2 separate regions of the Homo sapiens genome follow, and region 1 is linked to region 2. Evidence: promoter capture Hi-C in 16 types of primary human blood cells and fetal thymus (Javierre and others, 2016). All regions are on one chromosome and are shown on one strand. Each heading gives the region's core, a stretch centred on a gene start or on the middle of the fragment in contact. The rest is flanking DNA. Distances are from core to core; before and after follow the strand shown.

Region 1 (3,356 bases), core at 554-3,053, 270 kb after region 2:
CACCTTGAGGACAGAACAACCACAGCCCACCCATGATGTAAGAACTAGTCCACACAGCAATGGAAAACTCCTTTCATCATGGGTCTGTCATGAGCATATCTATTGTGAATGGAGCATGAATGGGTCAGAGAAAGAACAATTTCTTCTTCCCAAACAACTTTGCCTTCATGAAAAGCTTAGGTTATTGATGAATTTCTTAGGGCAACCATATTGCTTGGTAGCTACTCTATGGATCTAGGGTTATAGGATAGGAAGTCCCAAACCCAGAATCGCAGGATTTGAAAATCGTAAGAAGAGATAATCTTGATGAATCTTCTTATTTTAAAGATAAAAGAAGACCTAGTAAGATTAAGCTATTTGGTCAAGGTAATTTTTTTTTTTTTTTTGCTATGATTGGGTCCTAGCTTTCTGGCTGACTGCTTCTCATCCAGAACCCTTTTAACTCATTCACATTTCTTCACATTATTTTACACACACATACACACACACACACACGTGCACATAGATATAAATCTGATATGAGGAGAAACTGATGTTCAGTAGTTTAATAGGCATCTCCAATTTAACATAGCTAAAACAGATCTCTTGATGTTGTTCCTGAAAATAGATCTCTACCCACCTCCCCCATAACTATAAAGGGTACTCTCACCCATACCCCAGAAACCTTTCTTGATGGCGCTCTCTCTCACCATCGTAGCATTTACCAATATCTGACGTTGTTTTAGATTTTTATCTGCTTATTATCGTTCCATTGAAATTTAAGCTCCATGGTGGCATTTTGTTCAGAGAAAACTCTTCACTGCTTTAAAAGTCCCTGGCACATAGTAGGCGCCCAAAAAATATATGTTGAATGAATCCATTGGTATTAAATCCTGTGGTCAGGAAACACTTATGGCAACATCATTTTTAGCTAAATGGGAACTTAATGTAGGGACTTACCAGAAACTGAAAGCAGAAATGTCACAGTCATTGCTATAGGCCATGTAGTTGCCTTCGATTTTAAAAACAATGAGGCCGGGTACAGTGGCTCACACCTGTAATCCCAGCACTTTGGGAGGCTGAGGCAAGTGGATCAATTGAGGTCAGGGGTTCAAAACCAGCCTGGCCAACATAGTGAAACCTGGTCTTTACTAAAAATACAAAAATCACCTGGGCATAATGGCACACACCTGCAATCCCGCTACTTGGGAGGCTGAGGCAGAGAATTGCTTGAACCCAGGAGGTGGAGGTTGCAGTGAGCCAAAATCACGCCACTGCACACCAGCCTGGGTGACAGAGTGAGAGTCCATCTAAAATAAATTTAAAAAGACAATGACAGTCACAGTACCTCTGAAATCTTTGTATAGGATCAAATACCAGCCTATTAATATGCTCAGGAGCAAGTGACCCTGATACGACAGGAGGTAATATGGCAAAATCAAAACTTACTACTACTCTAAATTAATGACTTTGGCCATATCATTGTCAATATCCACTGAGCCTCCCTCACTTCTAGATATCCTGCCAGGAAATTATAGAAACAAACTCAGTTACAAAGCAATAAAGGACACTGCCGTGAAGGATCCAATTCCACTAATTTATGTATTCATTTATTCTATTTATTCAGCAAACTTTCACTGAGTGGATACCATGTGCTTGACACAACTAGGTGCCAAGACTAAAATCCTGTCTGGAATAGTGTTTACTATTGATTTTGTTGCAGTCATATCTCTGTCGCCATCATCTTATTCATGCAAAGCTGAAGGCATATAAAGGTTACCATGGGAAACTAAAGAAAGGCATCTCGGTGTCCTTTACTTATTTTTCCTACAGTGGGCAGTGATGATGACATTTATCAAGCTGTCTCACCTAAACCACCGACAAGTTGTTGTATCCTAAGAACTGATGTCTCTATCTTGGGACCATATTATCTAAGTTACCTGAGTCATAAGGATGAGGGGAAGCATTCGTTCTTATTTGAGAGGGGAAATTCCATTCCCCTACTTTGACAATATTTTCCCAGTAGTAATTTAATCCTCAGAATCCTGTAATACCCTTAGGATAGTAATGAATAAATGAATGGCTGCAGTACATTAAATCCTTATTTTCATCCTAAGAGCTTGATCTTGGTGGTTACCATTTTTCAGCTCTTCAATCATTTATTGCAACATATCATGCTACAACAGAAACTATTTAGAAGCAAGCAAGATGCTAACTGCTGTTATGTGCATTTAGAAATGGTCAGTTGACGAGAGGAGAAATCAGATGGTTAAACTTCTGCAACATTTTTCAAAGACCTCCAGTAAGGCTTAATACATTGAAATACAAATTACAGGAAAAGAAAGATTTGCCTGTACTAAAATTTTGGCAAAGAAACAACAGAAACATATCTTCGAACCCATCAAACAATTCTCTTCTGTCTGACCCTTACCAAGAACTCTCTTTATCTCCTTGGAATATTGACTTCCTTCCAATATACATAGGACTTTTCTGCATTCCCCAGGTGGGCCTATTGTCACTAAGAGTTTTTAACATGATGCATTAACCTCCTTGGGCTGCTGTAACAAATTAGCCCAAACTGGGTGGCTTAAACCAGCAGAAATTTATTCTCTTACAGTTCCAAAGCCTAGAAGTATGAAATCAAGGTGTCAGCAAGGCCATCCTCTCTCTGAAGGCTCCAGGAAAAAAATCTTCCTTGCCTTTTCCAGTTTCTTCCATTCCAGGTTGCCAGGGGGATCTTTGGCATTTCCTGGTTTGTAACTGCATCACTTAAATTTCTGCATCTGTCTTCACATGGCCATCTTCCCCCTAAGTGTGTCTTTTTTTTTTTTCTTTTGAAACAGGGTCTCACTCTGTCACCCAGACTGGAGTGCAAGTGGCACAATCACAGCTCACTGCAGCCTTGCCTTCCTGGGCTCAAGCAATCCTCCTGCCTCAGCCCCACGGAGTAGCTGAAACTACAGGTGCACCACCACACCCCACTAATTTTTGTCTTTTGTTTTTTGTTTTTTTTTGAAGAGATGGGGTTTCAACATGTTGCCCCAGGCTGGTCTCAAACTCAGGCTCAAGTGGTCTGCCCGCCTTGCCTCCCAAAGTGCCGGGATTACAGGCATGAGCCACCACACCCAGCCCTGTGTGTGTCTTTCTGTCCTAATCTCCCTCTTTTTATAAAGACATCAGTCACTGGCTTTAGGGCCCATTCTAATCCAGTACAACCTCATCTTAACTGGATTACATCTGCAAAGAACCTGTTTCCAGAGGAGGTCACATTCATAGGTACCAGGGCTTAGGACTTCAACTTATTTTGGAGGACACAGTTCAACTCACGACAATGCCCAAACTCTGAGCCTTCTAATCCGAGAAAATTCCACCAAATG
Region 2 (3,193 bases), core at 180-2,679:
CACAGAGGCCAACATGAAGAGAAGGCAGAGAGCCAAATATGTAGTCAACCAGGAGCAGCCCAGCAGGAGGTAGCAGGGAGACTTGTGCAGGATCAGTTGGATTGGCTCACCCCAGGCTGAGTAGTCTCCATTGGCTGCTTTCCTGGACCTTGCCTGCCTTCTTTTTCCTTTCCTTTCTCTACACGAGCCCCTTCACTCAAAAGGTAGAACTGCAAGGGATTGGGCCACAATTCTTCGTTGATTATCTCCACAATCTTGTCAGACTCAATGGAGCTGTGGTTTGAAAACCACCCAAAGAAACTACGGTTGTTTTCTGGGTTTCCCTGGCTTAGGGACTGGAGATCATGCCCTGGGAGCCACTGGATTGGAGTAGAACGAGACACCACCTGGCCAGAAGGACCACACCCATATTCCTTGATGAGCACCTTATTTTGGAAATACGGGTTGCGATCGAAGTAGAACTTGATTTTGTAGCCCAATCTGGCAAGGCCGAGCTCTTCCACTTCCAAGCTGTTTAAGTAGCTCAGTACCTCTTTCTCTTGGCTATTCAGAAAGGATGCTAGCTGGGGATGGTTCTGAAATGCTTGCCCCCAGAAGCCCGGGATATTTTGGATGAGGTGGTTCCTGCGCTCCAAGTGCTGCAGTCGCAACTGCCCAAACTTCCTGGAGAGCCGAAGGTAGGCCCTGTCCGCCTGGGCGTTCATGTTCTCCAGCTTCAGCTGCACGTTCTCCAGCGTATCCATGCTGCCTTCCGTCGCTGGGGGCCCCGACCCTGCATCCCTCTCTTCCTTCTTTTCCTCCCCAGCTGACACCGAGGTATTCTCCCCTGCCGCCCCTTTCTTCTGCCTCCCACCAGCTATGACCTGAGGCCCCCTCCCCGCGGTGCTACAGGTTTCTGGGGCCTTCTTCCCGGCAGGGCCACGCCGGTTTCCAACGCGGGGGGCATTTTTCGGCCTTCCCACGGTTCCCGCTGTTCCCACGAAGACAGTGTCTGCGGCCAGGCGCTCCGAGAGAGATGCGGCCTTCCCCGGGCCGGGCCTGGCCGCGGCCTGCCCGTGGTCCCCCGCAGCTCGGGCCCGCAGCGCGAGGCCACAGTCCAGGGGGAGCCGGCAGGCGGCCTCCTCCCCGAGCCGGAGGAGCTGCGCGGACGCAGCGGCTTCCAGGCCACCCCACCCCGCGCCAGCCTGCACCTGTGCCGCCTGGGTGTCTTCCCCGAGACTCTGGTACTGTGAAGGGTCCGGGTCGCGCGGGGCGTCGTCCGGAGCAGGGCGGACTCGGGCTTTGGCGCGGCCTTTGCCCCGGTTTTTGGCGCGGGAGGACTTTCGACCCCGACTTCGGCCGCTCATGGTGGCGGCGGAGGCAGCTTCAAAGACACGCTGTGACCCTGCGGCTCCTGACGCCAGCTCTCGGTCGGGACCGAGCGGGTCTCTCCACGGCAACCGCCGACGTCACGAACGTACAACTGTACCGTCGCGAGAGGACGTGATGCGCCCGGTGATTGGCGCCGCCGCTGCGGCTGCGCAGGAGACGACCCCCGCGGGCGCTCCCACCCCCATCTCGCGCGGACTCGCTTTAGGTCTCGGCGAGTTTCTCTGATATGCGCTCGCGGGGGTGCTGCCATTTCATCTCTTCCGCGCGGGCTCATCGTGCTCTCAGGGTCTCGTTGAACAAGGCAACGCTAAGAGCCATCACCACCTGTCCCCCATCACCTGTTTTCTAAACTAAACATCTTCAGCTCCTCCAGTTATCTCTTGTGGCATCTGTCATGAAGAAAGTGCTCGGGCGTGTGTGTCTCTCTTTGAACACCTTTGCTGAGGGATTTGCTCTGGTACCTTAACTCCAGAGAACGTAAAGGTGGATGCTATAATGCCGGGCGTCAAAGCGATTTGGTACGCAGTAAGATGATAGTAGAAATTATAAAAATAATGGCAACTAGTATTTTGTATCATTTGTGCCAGGCACTTTACTAGGTGCTTTAAATGCATTATCTCAATTTACAAAGGAGGTGTTGATATCATTCCCATTTTCGAGATAAGAAAACTGCATCTCAGAGACACCCGGGCACATTCCCCAGGTTACACAGTAAGGGATGGAAGCACAATTCAAACTCAAGCCCATGGGACTCCGTATCCTATGCCTTATATTTGGAAATGGCAAGTCCTTCCAGACTTGTTCCACTGTCAATTACTGGGCTGGCTCTTAAGAAATCAGCCTTGCTCCTTAACAAACAGGCTTCCGTGGACCACCTGACCACCTCTTCTGCCTGGGAACATCACCCGAGTCCCCCAGCTGCCTCAGTTTACAGATCTGGACTATCACTCTAGGTATAGGACCAGAAGTGAAGACCTGTATTAGAGCTCCTGTAATTGGAGTAAGACAAGAATGTGGTGAGAGGTGAAATTATTATTCAGGGAGCAGATTGAGGTTCAGAAGCAGAGCCTCCACGTGGCACTGCAGAAGCCCTAGAAACTTCTTACACTGTGCATGGAAACAGCCGGACAACCTCCCCCACAGTCCCGGAGGCAGCCCTGGACCACGCTCTTACTAGTGAGGTAATAGGACCATGAACAGTGAGGGGACCTGTGGCTAATGTAAAAATATAAAGAAAAACCTTTTGAGGTGGTCTTTTCAGGCTCAAAGGGAACAAAAAGGCCCTTGTAACCAGCTAGTGGAGAGATAAGCCCAAAAGCCCCGGGACCTCATTACTCAAAGTGTGGTTGTGGACCAGCAGCCTGATATCACCTGAAAGCTTGTTAAAGATGCAGAATCTCAGGCCTTTCCCCAGACCTACTAAGTCAGAATTTGAATTTTAACAAGATCCTGGGTGATTTGTATACACCCCTAAGTTTAAGGAAACAATTTAAAGAGGAATTATTTTTATACAGATGGCCCTATTTTAAGCCGGCCTAATACAAGTGATTCCTCATTTTCTCAAAAGCTCTAGAATAGCCTGCAAGGCCCTGTATGATCTGGCAAGTCTTCTATCTGCCACTACATGAGTTACCTCTCTGACCTCATCTTCTCTCTCCTCTCTCCCACCTCTAGCTACACTGGCTTCCTTGCTGTTCTTAAACTCACTAGGTAAACTCCTGCCTCAGAGCCTTTGCACTGGCTCTTCCTTCTACCTTAAATGCTCTTTCCCAATGTGGTTGGTGGCCTTGGCCAGCTGCCTTCACACTTTGCTTAAATGTCA

The links. Contacts are between HindIII fragments. The CHiCAGO score rates a contact against its expected background, and 5 or more counts as called.
Region 1: a fragment that was not itself captured here is called in contact with the fragment with the promoter of TSPYL5 in region 2 in 2 of 17 cell types (M1 macrophages and M2 macrophages); the score reaches 7.8 in M1 macrophages.

Annotation. Positions count from the first base shown.
Region 1 is chr8:97,549,076-97,552,431 of GRCh38, forward strand. No RefSeq gene overlaps it. Among named protein-coding and RNA genes, the nearest start is that of MTDH, 93 kb to the right of the region's middle. The HindIII fragment of the contact is 3,260 bases long and covers 174-3,356 here.
Region 2 is chr8:97,276,499-97,279,691 of GRCh38, forward strand. TSPYL5 (TSPY like 5) reads right to left here and starts at 1,430. Exons shown (of 1, transcript NM_033512.3): 1 at 1-1,430. The coding sequence starts at 1,346. The coding sequence ends at 93. The region is part of intron 2 of LOC101927066 (a long non-coding RNA gene); the gene reads right to left. RefSeq lists an enhancer at 467-968. The HindIII fragment of the contact is 4,352 bases long and covers 1-2,747 here.